Linked DNA regions of Homo sapiens: all the other regions are linked to region 2. Evidence: promoter capture Hi-C in human tissues and cell types (Jung and others, 2019). All regions are on one chromosome and are shown on one strand. The core of a region is centred on a gene start or on the middle of the fragment in contact, and the rest is flanking DNA. Distances in the headings are between cores, read along the strand shown. Region 1 overlaps HIRA (histone cell cycle regulator). Region 2 holds the start of CLDN5 (claudin 5). Region 3 overlaps UFD1 (ubiquitin recognition factor in ER associated degradation 1).

Region 1 (4,732 bases), core at 177-2,676, 110 kb after region 2:
CTTGGTGTCTCTAGAGTCTAGGGTGTGTTAATTTGTCTTTTCTTTCTGTCTCTATTACAAAGAAAGGCCAGACACTGGAGGTAGTTGGGAACTCATCTTTGTCATCATCATGCTGTGCCACAGGAAGAGTTGTCTAACTAGCTCAGCCAGAAGGTCCCTTTCCTTAGCTCCACCTCAGAGAGCCCTTTAGAAGAGGTTCATTCCTGGCCGGGCACGGTGGCCGGGATTACCCCTGTAATCCCAGCACTTTGGGAGGCTGAGGTGGTCGGATCATGAGGTCAGGAGATCGAGACCATCCTGGCTAACATGGTGAAACCCTGTTTCTACTAAAAATACCAAAATTAGCTGGGCGTGGTAGCAGGCACCTGTAGTCCCAGCTATTCAGGAGGCTGAGGCAGGAGAATGGCGTGAACCTGGGAGACGGAGCTTGCAGTGAGTGGAGATCACGCCACTGCACTCTAGCCTGGGCGACAGAGCGAAACTCTGTCTATAAATAAATAAATAAATAAATAAATAAATAAATAGTTTCATTCCCACTAATGGAATGTGAGTGACTGCTTTCCTTGGGATGGAAAGGCCTAGTGCTGTAAGGAGGCGGGGAGCCAGCACTGCGCTGGTATCTGTGTAGGTCCCCTACCATATTTCATCTAATCTGCATAGCACTAGGAAAGGAAACCTGGTGCCAATGAACCAGGCACGCCTTCTCAAAATAATAAAAATAAAATAAAATAAAATCTCAAGGCTTTGTAGCTGGGTAAGTGGCAGGGCTAAAGATTCAGCCCATGATGTTTAATGCCAAAACCCAAACTTGTTGCCAGCCTCCATCCCTGCCTTCCCCTGGAGCCTTGAGGCCCCCACCCCCATTTTCCACACTGCTATTGTGGAGCCAGAATGTGAATCTGACCTTGGCATTACCCTGCCTTGAAAGTACCTTTAGAGAAATGTCTCAGCTCCTTACTGATGCTTGCTGAGCCATCTCTGTCTCCTCTTCTTTCTCACACTCTCTACCTGCAGTCTGCTCTGCAACATTACATCAGCCTATTTCTTGATTCCATGCCGTGCGTCCCCTCAGCCTGAAAACCCTCTCCTTCACCCGATCTTCTGGCTAACTCTTACTCAACCCTTGGGACCCAATTCAGTTATTATTTCTGCAGGAAGCCCGAGGCTGAGTCAGGTGGCTTTCTGCTTGTGAAGTGTCCATCAGTGGACATCTTACTAGGGGAGTTTGTATGATTATGTATCTTTACTTTCTCATTGCTTAGCCTAATGCCTGGCACATAGTAGAAATCTGCAAACAGAGACTGAGTGAGAAAACATGCAGTTGATGCTGTGAGTGGGCATGATCTAAAGCGCATGGGCTGTAATTGGTTACTTGTGCAGCTGAGCCCTCAGCACAGCCTGGCTCAGCCTGTACGTGCTCTTGGGTAGTCAGGGGAACTGTGACTTGCAGGTAAGGGTTTCTGGTGTGCTTCTTGAGGGGACTGATGTAATACAATGTCTCACAGACTTATGGAACTGAAAAGCACTCCAAGGGGAGGGGAATGTTCCGCCCTGATTGCCCGTCAAGACCAAAGCTGTCAGCTAGAACATTTTTTGTTAAAATGACAAATGCCCAGCTCAAGCTGGCTTAAGCAGAAAAGCAAATGAATTGGCATTTTGGTTTATCTCTTATATGACAAACCCCTAAATTTGCTGGCTTAAACCAATAACAGTTTTATTATTTGCTCATAATTCTGCAGCTTGTCAGGACTTAGCAGGTTCAGCTCATCTTGGCTCTATGGAATCTGCTGGGATGGCTCGAATAGCTTGGGGATAGAACACCTCACCAGGCCTGTGTCTGTGACCTTGATTCTCACTTGTCCGGGCTCTTTGATGCTCTACATGTGGCCAGCTTGGGCCTCTTCAAAACATGGTGGTCTCAGGGTACTTGGACTTCTCACATGACAACTAGGTTTCTCCAGAGAGCCAAAGTTGAACTGCTAGACTCTTAAGGCCTACACCTGGAACTGGAGCAACATTACTTCTGTCATTTCCCTTTGGTTAAAACGGGTCCCAGGTGTTTCAGATAAGGGATACTCAACCTATACTACATAGTGACCAGTAAGAAGGAAAGTGTATTTTATCTCAAGTTCATGCTTGATTTGACTACATGGCTGCGGCTCTCCACAGCTGGGTGCTGCCTGGGTCCCATGCTGGGCAGTGCCTTTTGGGCACCAGCATTTAATTTTCACACTTGCATGGGAGCCCTGGCAGGACTTCACAGTTCTCAGACAGCCACTGCCTGCCCACACACTCCTGATCCCAGTACTTGCTGAGTGATTCTAGGGCTGGTGACTCTGGTACTGTGTCCACATTGCCTCCTCTTGGGTGACAGAGACAGAACATGTTCAATTAAGAGACTCTTGGCAACAGCCCATCTATATCAGCAATTGTTGATGCTCAGATCATTGTCATGTATCTCCTTTGTCAATGAACAAATATTACTGCGCTACTGTACACTGGGTACTGTGCTAGAGGCTGAAGATGTGATGAACTCAACAGCAACTGACATGCCACTTGTAGCTCTTAAACCTTTGTCCTAGAAGCAGGGAGCTGGACAAATGCCCACCAGGCGTGAGTGCCTTCTATGGTCTGCTGGGTTTCAAGCTCCTACAGTGCTTTTGCCGGTCTGATCCACCCACCCAGCCAGCCAGCTAGCTTCATGGGATCCTAGTGCAAGCCTAGGCCCATACTGGGCTCTTTGGGGCTTCTAAGAACTAATAGCCACAGTCCTTTCTCCTGGAGGAATTGAACAGCTAATTTAACATAGAGTACAAACTGTGAAGGAGGTTCAGCCAGAGGAGATGCTGAGATGGCAGACGGTATGGGAACTTCACAGCACAAACAAAAGAGGGCTGTTTGGAAGCAGAAGTATGACAAGCGAAGCAATGCTCCTTGGTTGCAGCCAGCGCTGGTCCTGCTCAGCTGTCAGCCAGAAAAGACAAATAGCAGTCCTTCTGTCTAGGCTGCCAGTCAAGTGCAGATCCATGCAATAGGGAGATGTCTGGAGTTACAGCTGTGTGCCCTTTTCACTAAGTACCTGAGACTCAGAACTTCAATCATGAACAGCTCATAGCCATTACAAACACACATCCCTACAAGATGGCAGACAAATGCCCAGGCATCCTATGGGCTCAGCCATTCTCAGTGATGGAATGCTTTCTCCCACTGTTGGACTTTCAGTTGTCTGATGTTTGGAGAATCTTCTAGCAGTTTAGACTTTAACTGAATCTGTTGAGTTTGATACACTTCAATGAATAAAAGCCAATTTAGATACTGTATTTTTTTTTCTTTGTTTCCAGGCAAGCCGATTTTTTCAGTTGATATTCACCCTGACGGGACCAAGTTCGCAACTGGAGGACAAGGTATGTTTATGGAATAAAGAAAGGGAAAGCTTAACAGCCCTGCCACCTTGCTCTTCTCCTGCTGTCCATTTAGCTGTAGAGGGAATACTTGCTATTTTTCAGGATGGATGCAACGCTGTTTAAAATGTACAGTTATAATGTGTTATCTGAATGAATAAAATCAAAATCCTTTTATGGCTTTAGTGTGCTCTCTGTAAGTATTTTGGCAGCGGATGTATCATTCTAATTTCTGTTTATTGAGTTAATATTAAAATCAGTTTGTATCCCCAAACTTGTAGAGCATCGAGAGCGGTAGGTGGTCCAGTGGGCAAAGCCCAGCCCCAGAGACAAGGGCTCTGTCAGCATTTTTCTCATCTGAAAAAAGGGAATGAGGGTAATTTAAGCTTCTAAAGCAATCGTGTAGTTATTAGGCCCATTTTCTCGTCAAAGGAATTCAGTTAGGTTAAAGAGAAAGCACACTGTGGGCAAGTAAGAAAGCCCACACCATTTGAAACTGTTATTGGTAGTATTGCCCTTATGCTTCAGCCAGCATCTTTTGCAATGTTGCATGGTTCTATTTGGAAAGACAGAGCTGTTCTTCATGCCACAATACCAAGATGTATATATAGTGACACAATGTAGCATTCCACAGAGCCCAGCCCTCTGTCATCTTTACCCCAGAGCGGGGCCTCCCTCCAACCAGGCCTCCCCAGGCAGCACTTAGAGAGTGCCTTTGTGAGCTCTAGGTCCTCAGGCCAGGTGCTGCAGGGTGGGTTTCCAGCAGATGCTTCCACCCAGAATCAAGGAGCTGGAAGGGAGTGTAGGGAAGCTGTGGGCAGGGAAGCCTTTCTCTCCTTCCATGCTGTGGACTGCACCCGAGAGGAGGAGGTGCAGCACATGAGAGAGAACACATGGACTTAGCTGAAGGAATCAGAGGGTTCGCACCTGTACCCAGAAGACACACATTTTGCCACCTTGGTCCAGCAGAGATGTTTTGGAAATACTTTTACATATTGGCCAAGAGGCAGTTTCAAACATGCTTTATGGTAATTTTGGCATGTTCATTGGATTTGGCCCTATTATAATAGGAAAATTAAGTGAGGGGCTAAACTTCGTTAGATATCAGTGATGGAAAGCTTAGAAATCATTACTAAGGCTGGGCACGGTGGCTCACGCCTGTGATTTCAGCACTTTGGGAGGCCAAGGCAGGCGAATCATCTGAGGTCAGGAGTTCGAATCAGCCTGGCCAACATGGCGAAACCCCGTCTCTACTAAAAATACAAAAATTAGCTAGGTGTCATGGTGTTCGCCTGTAATCCCAGCTAGTCGGGAGGCTGAGATAGGAGAAT
Region 2 (4,315 bases), core at 296-2,795:
ATTTCCTTCCAGCCTCAGGGCTGGGCACACTTGCCTTCAGAACCTCCCCACACTAGGTGAGCCAGACGCTGGCCTTATCTCATTTACCATCTCAGAGCCATCTGAAGGGGGAGAAGGGAACCGGGCCCCAGGAGGGAGAAAGTCATCAAACCTCCCACATCTGTGACCAGCCTCAGTGCCATACTTTTTCTATGGAGGGCCCTGTCCAATGGAACTGAGCACAGACCAGATAAAAGAACTGGGCACCCAGTGGCCTCAGTCCAGGGCCTGGAGTTCAAACTTTACTGGAAACAAAGGGGCCGAGAGAGACTGGGGAAAGAACTACTAGAAAGGGGCTGGTGCCCCCATGGGGCTGTGGGTTTTGGAGCCGCGTGCCCCCACCTGAGCCTCAGGGGGCCCGGAGTGTCCACACCAGTGGACCTTTCGAGAAATGGCTGGGCCATTGTGCAGAAGAATGCCCGGAAATCCCGCGCCTCCCTCCTCCAGCAAGGATGGGGGCTCTTCCTCCTGGCCAGGAAACTCCAAGTTGGCTTCCGGAGGGTGGCCTGGGGGCTGGGGTGCCAGGGACACCATCGCCACTGGTGGGAGGGCAGGGCACAGCCCCTCCGTGTCCCTTTGTCTCTCCTGTCTGAAGGCCAGAGCAGGCTGCTAGGCCTGGGGCCACCACTGCCCCTGGGTGCTACACCCAGTGTGCTGGGTCACTGGGAACTTCCTGAAGTGGTGTCACCTGAACTGGGCCCCCAAGGATGGGGTGCGGGCAGTACCGCAGGAAGAGGAGCAGCCCCTGTGAAGATTGAGAGGTCTGGGAAGCCCCTGCGGCTTGGGAGAGTGGGGGTCGCCAGGCAGGGGGAAAGCCCCTGTGCCACCGCTTTTTGCCAGAGACTCAGGCTCCAGAGAGGCAGTGAGTGGCATGGGGGGTGAGGCTGGGGCCCTGGGCCTGACCTCCACACGCCTGCCTGGCCTCTCTGTTTGCCATGGGATGAGAGAGACAGTGCTGGGACTCAGAGCGGGGCTGGAGAGTGAGAGTGCGAGAAAGGGCCTGGGTGGGGCTTGGACCCCGGGGCGGGCTTTCTGGAGAGCCCCCCTACGAGGGCCTCTACGGCGGTGACGGGGTGGGGGGCTTCTGCAAACCTTGGTCAGGGAAGTGGAGCTGGCTCGAGTGGAAGAGACCACCCGGCTCAGTCGGGGATGTGGGAGTGGACTGGGTGGTGCAGACTGGGGGTCGAGCGCCTTCTGAAGTGACGGGGCCGGGACGCGCAGGGAGGCGGCCCAAGAAGCGCGCCCTAGGCCAGCCCAGAATGCGCTCGGCCGCGACTAGGACAACGGCGGGTGGGGCTGGGGGCGGCTGCCGGGCGGGGAGCGGTCCCGCGCCCTCAGCTACCCCTCAAGAGCCGTTGTTTCCCTAACTTCAGCTGCCAGAGGCTCTGTGATTGGCTGCGGCACGATGACCCGCGCACGGATTGGCTGCTTCGGGCCGGGGGGCCGGGCCCGGGGGACAGAATCCGCCCCCGAACCTTCAAAGAGGGTACCCCCCGGCAGGAGCTGGCAGACCCAGGAGGTGCGACAGACCCGCGGGGCAAACGGACTGGGGCCAAGAGCCGGGAGCGCGGGCGCAAAGGCACCAGGGCCCGCCCAGGGCGCCGCGCAGCACGGCCTTGGGGGTTCTGCGGGCCTTCGGGTGCGCGTCTCGCCTCTAGCCATGGGGTCCGCAGCGTTGGAGATCCTGGGCCTGGTGCTGTGCCTGGTGGGCTGGGGGGGTCTGATCCTGGCGTGCGGGCTGCCCATGTGGCAGGTGACCGCCTTCCTGGACCACAACATCGTGACGGCGCAGACCACCTGGAAGGGGCTGTGGATGTCGTGCGTGGTGCAGAGCACCGGGCACATGCAGTGCAAAGTGTACGACTCGGTGCTGGCTCTGAGCACCGAGGTGCAGGCGGCGCGGGCGCTCACCGTGAGCGCCGTGCTGCTGGCGTTCGTTGCGCTCTTCGTGACCCTGGCGGGCGCGCAGTGCACCACCTGCGTGGCCCCGGGCCCGGCCAAGGCGCGTGTGGCCCTCACGGGAGGCGTGCTCTACCTGTTTTGCGGGCTGCTGGCGCTCGTGCCACTCTGCTGGTTCGCCAACATTGTCGTCCGCGAGTTTTACGACCCGTCTGTGCCCGTGTCGCAGAAGTACGAGCTGGGCGCAGCGCTGTACATCGGCTGGGCGGCCACCGCGCTGCTCATGGTAGGCGGCTGCCTCTTGTGCTGCGGCGCCTGGGTCTGCACCGGCCGTCCCGACCTCAGCTTCCCCGTGAAGTACTCAGCGCCGCGGCGGCCCACGGCCACCGGCGACTACGACAAGAAGAACTACGTCTGAGGGCGCTGGGCACGGCCGGGCCCCTCCTGCCAGCCACGCCTGCGAGGCGTTGGATAAGCCTGGGGAGCCCCGCATGGACCGCGGCTTCCGCCGGGTAGCGCGGCGCGCAGGCTCCTCGGAACGTCCGGCTCTGCGCCCCGACGCGGCTCCTGGATCCGCTCCTGCCTGCGCCCGCAGCTGACCTTCTCCTGCCACTAGCCCGGCCCTGCCCTTAACAGACGGAATGAAGTTTCCTTTTCTGTGCGCGGCGCTGTTTCCATAGGCAGAGCGGGTGTCAGACTGAGGATTTCGCTTCCCCTCCAAGACGCTGGGGGTCTTGGCTGCTGCCTTACTTCCCAGAGGCTCCTGCTGACTTCGGAGGGGCGGATGCAGAGCCCAGGGCCCCCACCGGAAGATGTGTACAGCTGGTCTTTACTCCATCGGCAGGGCCCGAGCCCAGGGACCAGTGACTTGGCCTGGACCTCCCGGTCTCACTCCAGCATCTCCCCAGGCAAGGCTTGTGGGCACCGGAGCTTGAGAGAGGGCGGGAGTGGGAAGGCTAAGAATCTGCTTAGTAAATGGTTTGAACTCTCTCCCACCTGTGTCCTGTTCTCTGTCCAGCCATCTTCCGTGTCCAGCAGCCCCATTCATCACCCACCAGCCCCGCCCTCCCAAGGACTCCTGTGGAGACCTCCTCCCAGGGCTGGAGGCTGGGGCTCTTTTCCCCATCCTCCCTGCCACCTTCCCACCAGGTGGGAGACACAGCCACCACTTACTACAGCCCAGAAAGGCGGGATCTGCGGTCAGAAGAGCTGCTGCGTCATGGGGCCCTGGGGCCCGGGATGGGACAGGGGCGGGGGCAGCGGCAGACCCCAGCAGAAGATGCGGGGTGAAGCGCCCTCAACACAGGCTGGTGAGTGGGGGTCCTGCGGTGTGGGAAGTGCTGGGGGTGAGCAGCCAGGCCGCTGGCTTCTCCCAGAAAGGGCCAAGCCCCACACAGCACAGGGTGAGGTTTTCCACTGCCCTCTCAGGGCTTGCCTAGTCCCAAGCCCCATCAAGTGGCCACAGAGGTCTGTAGAATCCCCGACCAGGCCCTTTCCAATGGTGGGTGGGGCAGGAACAGGGGTGAATGCAGGACACGCCGGTCAACAGTAGGGTTGCCATGGGAGGAGGTGCTGGCAGCTGGTTGCCTGGAGTACCACAGCTTGGCTCTAGCCCCTCGTCCTGGCTCCTCTGCCAGTCCCAGCGCAGCTCCCTACAGAGCCTGTACCCACCCTGCTGGCCTGGCAGCCTGCCCAGAATGGTGCTCACAACCAGCACCTGTGCCAGCCCCTGCTGGGGGCACTCTGGGTAACCTTCCTCCTCCAGGGGCTGTGTGGCCTGGGAGTCAGTGCTGGCCCCTGCCAGGCACCTCGGAATGGGGGTGTCTAGAGCCATCTAACATAGCCACTGAGAGCTCACTGTTTTTAGCCTTGTTCTAGGCACTTTGAATTAACACATTTTTGACATTTGACATAAAGCTAGAAGCAGAAGAGAGCAGCTGATGAAGGGGGCATGCTGCAGGGAAGAGCTCTAAGCCCAGCCGGAAGGGAGACTTGGTATCTGCCCCAAACTGGACTTGGGGGCCCTGCCCAGAAATGTCTGGGCCACATCCAGTGGCAGGGAGTCTCCTAGGTCTGGCCAGGCTACCATCATGGAGCAGTGGGAGAACCCCAAGAATGCAGGCTCAGAGTGGCTTAGGGCAGCTGCTGGAATGTGTGGCAGCTTCCTGGGAGCTGCTGTGGAACCAGCCGGTGGGATGAGTTACAGGGAGAGGGGCCCCACGGTGCAGAGGTCCTCAGCAGGCCTGACCTGTACCCCACCTGGGCCTGTACAACAGGGACCAAGAATAGTCCCCAAGCTTGGGAGTGTGTGATCCCAGAGCTGTGGCCCTGGGCAGAGCCAAAAACAATGGTCCTTACACTCTTGCACCTGGCCACC
Region 3 (4,346 bases), core at 562-3,061, 71 kb after region 2:
TGCCCCTCCTTCCACAGTGCCACCCCCAGTACCACTGTGGTCCAGCCTCTCTCCATACCTCTCCATACCCCCAATTCAGCCTCTTCTTGCCCCCACTGGCTTTCCTAAGATGCGAGTCTGATTAGATCTGTCTCTTACTCAAAACCTTTCTGGTCCCTATTTGGTGATCTGCCTATTTTCCTGTTTTGTGACTTGGAATTATTAATCAGGTCACATTATCTCAGTTCCCCTGAAAGTTCCCTGAGGAGCTACCTCAGATGTGCTTCTGTTGCTGGGTCCGGGGACCCACAGCAGACCCTTCCTCTGGTGGCCATGATGGCAGGGGCAGGGCTGAGGTGTGTCAGTTGTCTGTTGTGTGTGTGAAATCAGAATACTGGAGTGAGAGTCTAGCCACCTCAGGGGGTTCTGTGAAGCTCAGGACAGTGACAGTGAGGGCTTCCCAATCCTTCAGATGACCCCTCTCCATAGACAGGTACAGAGCCTAAAGCCCCTGGCCCTATACCCAATATTGATACCAAACCAAGAAGTCAGTTACTTTCTGCTTCCCTCCTGGGAGGATGCCAGGAAGCACCAAAGGGCCCAGGTGGGGTGCAGCAGCATCTTTTCTGCGTTCCTCTTGACTGTCAAAAATGAATTTTAGTCCTTTTTTCCTGGAAATAACATTTCTCTGTCTCTGTCTCTTCTTACAGAGGAATTCCCAATTATGAATTTAAACTTGGTAAGATAACTTTCATCAGAAATTCACGTCCCCTTGTCAAAAAGGTTGAAGAGGTGAGTGTATTTCCTTGTATTTCCTTGGTTGGTAATGAGGAGATTTATTTGCTAGTGATGACTGAAGTTCTTGGCATTCTGAGTAGGGGTGTGCATTAGTCTGTTTCCAAGCTGCTGGTAAAGATGTACCCGAGACTGGGCAATTTACAAAAGAAAGAGGTTTAATGGACTTACAGTTCACATGGCTGGGGAGGCCTCACAATCATGGCAGGGGGCAAGTCACATCTTACATGGATGGTAGCAGGCAGAGAAAAAGCTGGTGCAGGGAAACACCTACTTATAAAACCATCAGATCTCATGAGACTTATTCACTATCATGATAACAGCACGGAAAAGACCCGCCCTCATGACTCAGTTACCTCCCACCGACTCAGTTACCTCCCACCTGGTCCCTCCCACAACACGTGGTAATTCAAGATGAGATTTGGGTGGGGACGCAGCCAAACCACATGAGGGTGTCTGTCATGTTTTCCCTTTCCTAGGGTCCCTCTGCTCCCTGGTGTCCTGTTTTTTTCTGTAGAGCTGGTGTAGGGTGTATGAAACAGAAGACTTGCAGCATGGGGGTCAGGAGCTCTGTCTTGCTCTAGAGCCGACTCCAGGCTCTGTTATCACAGAACTGTGTGCCCTGGGTGGGCTTCGTCTTCCAACAGAGACCTTGAACTTCAAATATAGGCAGCACCTTCTAGCTGAGCAGGGTGGTGGCGGGACAGAGGAAGGCAAGGGCTGAGCATCCTGTAGACATGGGCACTTTGTGGGAATATGGCCAGGCCTGGCAGCAACTGGAACGCAGTCACCTCTTTGTGATGAGGATTTCTACAACACCAGCGCTTCAGACCCATCGCTCTCCTGGTTCCTTTTCTCAAAGGATTGGACCCTTGAGGATCCAGGATCAGGGCAGAGGGCAGATGTACTGAGCCACCCATTCAGGACCAGCTGCTACATGGGAGCCATCCCAATTACTGAACTCTTTTCTCTAGCACTTGGGGTGGTTGGGGACAGAGACCACTGTGAAGTTTGCACACCTGGTCCTACTCACAACCACTTCTGGGCTCAATGTTCAAGTTGAAACAGCATTGGGCATTGGGACCTTTCAGGCTCAGAGGAGCAAACATAGTGGCCAGTCAGACCTCACCCTCCAGCTCCTCCTTCAGGCACCATCCAGGCTTCACCAGCTACAGGCTGCCTTTCTCACTAAAAGCCAGTGCCTGACTCCGACCTAAGACCTTAGCATGGGACGTCCCCCAGGCTGACTGTGACCTGACTGTTGCAAATTTACAGAAGGCAGGGGAGGCCAGTGGGCACAGCAGGCCTGTTTGACCATAAATATGTATTTAAGAAGTATATGTTTAAAGATGGGATTGAAGACATATTTAGCTCTATTCCATCCTGCAGCCCCACTAAGGCTGTGGCTAAAGGTCATGAGGTAAGAAAGACAGTGGAAGAGGAGGCAACTACAAGGCTTTGGAAGCCCCAGGTACCTTAGTAGACCATAGAAAGCCTAGAAGCAGTTCTGTGTAGATTGTGGAATTCTCAAAAGGCACCTCTAGAAATGAGGGACTAAAGACAGAATTCTGTTACTAAGCAGTTAGAGCTGCATTACCCTCCCTCCCCCATCCCAGAAGGCTGGAGGCTCGACTCCAGTAGGTCTCTAGACTACTATCTCTGAAGTGAAGGCCACAGTCAGAAAGCTTTCCATTCCAGCATCTAAATAATAGAGGATTTGTGGGAAGAACAGCCACAGAAACCAAAGGAGCAGAAATCATCAGGGAAATAGTTTCCCCAAAGATGGGCACAATTTTGCAGATTTGAAGGGCTCACTGAGTTCCAGCAAAATGAATGAAAATAGCCCCACTTTGAGGCAAAGAAAGATCCTAAAGCTTCTAGAGAGAGAACAGAGGTATCACCATGCATTAAGGACATCATCAGCCAAGCGCCATGGCTCACACCTGTAATCCCAACACTTTGGGAGGCTGATGCGGGAAGATCATCTGAGCCCAGGAGTTTGAGACCAGCCTGGGCAATATAGGGAGACCCTGTCTCTACAGAAAATTTTAAAAATTAGCCAAGCATGGTGGCACGCACCTATAGTCCCAGCTACTTTAATGCTGAGTTGGGAGCATCACTTGAGCCTGGGAGGTGGAGGCTGCTGTGAGCTGAGATCACACCACTGCACTCCAGCCTGGGTAACAGTAAGTCCCTGTCTCCCAAAAAAAGGGACATCATCTTAGCAGGACACAGAGGAAACTAGAAGATAGTGGAGCAATATACTCAAAATTCTGAGGGGAAATTTTTTCCAACCTAAAATTCTGTACCAACTCTTATGAGCTGGATTGTGTCCCTCCAGTGTTTCTGTGTTGAAGCCCTAACCCCCAGTAACTCAGATAGGGCCATTTAAAGAAGCAATTAAGTTAAAATAAGACCATTAGAGTTGGCCATAATTCAATCTGGTGTCCTTTTAAGAAGAGGAAATTTGGACATAGGAAGGGCCATGTGAGGACACAGCAAGAAGGCAGCCATCTGCAAGCCAAGGAAAAGGGTGTCAGAGGAAACCAAACCTGCTGACACCTTGATCCTGCACTTCTAGCCTCCAAAACTATGAAGAATAAATTTCTGTTGTTTGAGCCACCCTATCTTTGGCATTTTATATGGCAGCCCTAGCAGACTAACATACCAACCAGCCTATCAATGAAATATGAGATTAGAAAAAAGGAACTCACAAGAAGATAATCCTCATGCATCTTTTCTCAGGAAGCTCCTAGGAGGTGTTCCTCACTAAAATGAAGGAATAAGGTAGAAATAAGAAAGTCATAGAATCCAGGAAATAAGGAGCCCCCACTAACATGTACGGCACCTAGAGAAAGGCCAGTCCAGGTACGGCAGGGCGAAGGCCCAGGAGACACAGGTTTGTCAAAACAGATGAACTCCATGCAATGCAGGCTGTGATTGAATAGAGGAAGAAGCCAAACACAGCTATTGACACCAGGATGAATGGAAGGCTGTGCGGCAAAGGAAGACTAAATGCAGCTGTGACTCAAATTTACATGAATGTGACCACATAAATACTAAACAGTGCTCTATTGCAGGTATAACATGCTACAGTTAGTGGGGAGCCAGGTGCAGGGATGTGTGTTGAACATTCCAGAATCCTCTTCTTCCTAGGGAAAAGTTGAGATAATGCCTCAGACTGACTAGCAATAAAAGCATGTGAAAAAAAATATGTGCAGTTTTCAAAGGTTTGGGAAAAAACAATCCCTCTTTCTGCTGATGGAAGGATAGCTTAGTGGAATGTTTCTGAGGGCTGGTTGGTCTCTATATGTTAAAAGCATTAAAAGTGTGTACACACTTTGACCCAGGAATTTGAGCTCTAAAAAAAATCAGAGTTGTGTGCAAATACATTAAGCTGCTTACCACAACAATGTCCACTGGTAGAAAACTGGCCCTCCTACATCATGGAATTCTTTTTTACAGAATTCAGTTCTGTAGCCTTGGGAGTATACTAGACAGGAAGTTTATTGGCATGAGATTTCAGAATTAAGTGGGAAAACAATTCTTTAAGCATGTACAGAAAAGTGACC

Evidence for each region. The method cuts DNA at HindIII sites, captures the fragments that hold promoters and counts their contacts. A contact is called where the count stands out against the background at its distance.
Region 1: a contact is called between a fragment that was not itself captured here and the fragment with the promoter of CLDN5 in region 2, in 6 of the 25 tissues and cell types used here (dorsolateral prefrontal cortex, heart left ventricle, mesenchymal stem cells and 3 more).
Region 3: a contact is called between a fragment that was not itself captured here and the fragment with the promoter of CLDN5 in region 2, in 2 of the 25 tissues and cell types used here (dorsolateral prefrontal cortex and thymus).

The regions. Positions count from the first base shown.
Region 1 is chr22:19,409,388-19,414,119 of GRCh38, reverse strand. HIRA (histone cell cycle regulator) reads left to right here. Exons shown (of 25, transcript NM_003325.4): 2 at 3,342-3,404. Among named protein-coding and RNA genes, the nearest start is that of HIRA, 20 kb to the left of the region's middle. The HindIII fragment of the contact is 5,454 bases long and covers 1-4,153 here.
Region 2 is chr22:19,521,640-19,525,954 of GRCh38, reverse strand. CLDN5 (claudin 5) reads left to right here and starts at 1,545. Exons shown (of 1, transcript NM_001363066.2): 1 at 1,545-2,928. The coding sequence starts at 1,700. The coding sequence ends at 2,356. RefSeq lists an enhancer at 2,930-3,862. The HindIII fragment of the contact is 10,668 bases long and covers 1-1,775 here.
Region 3 is chr22:19,451,174-19,455,519 of GRCh38, reverse strand. It overlaps UFD1 (ubiquitin recognition factor in ER associated degradation 1), which reads left to right. Exons shown (of 12, transcript NM_005659.7): 11 at 690-771. It overlaps UFD1-AS1 (UFD1 antisense RNA 1), which reads right to left. Exons shown (of 2, transcript NR_186687.1): 2 at 3,832-3,926. Among named protein-coding and RNA genes, the nearest start is that of C22orf39, 5.6 kb to the right of the region's middle. The HindIII fragment of the contact is 4,632 bases long and covers 1-4,127 here.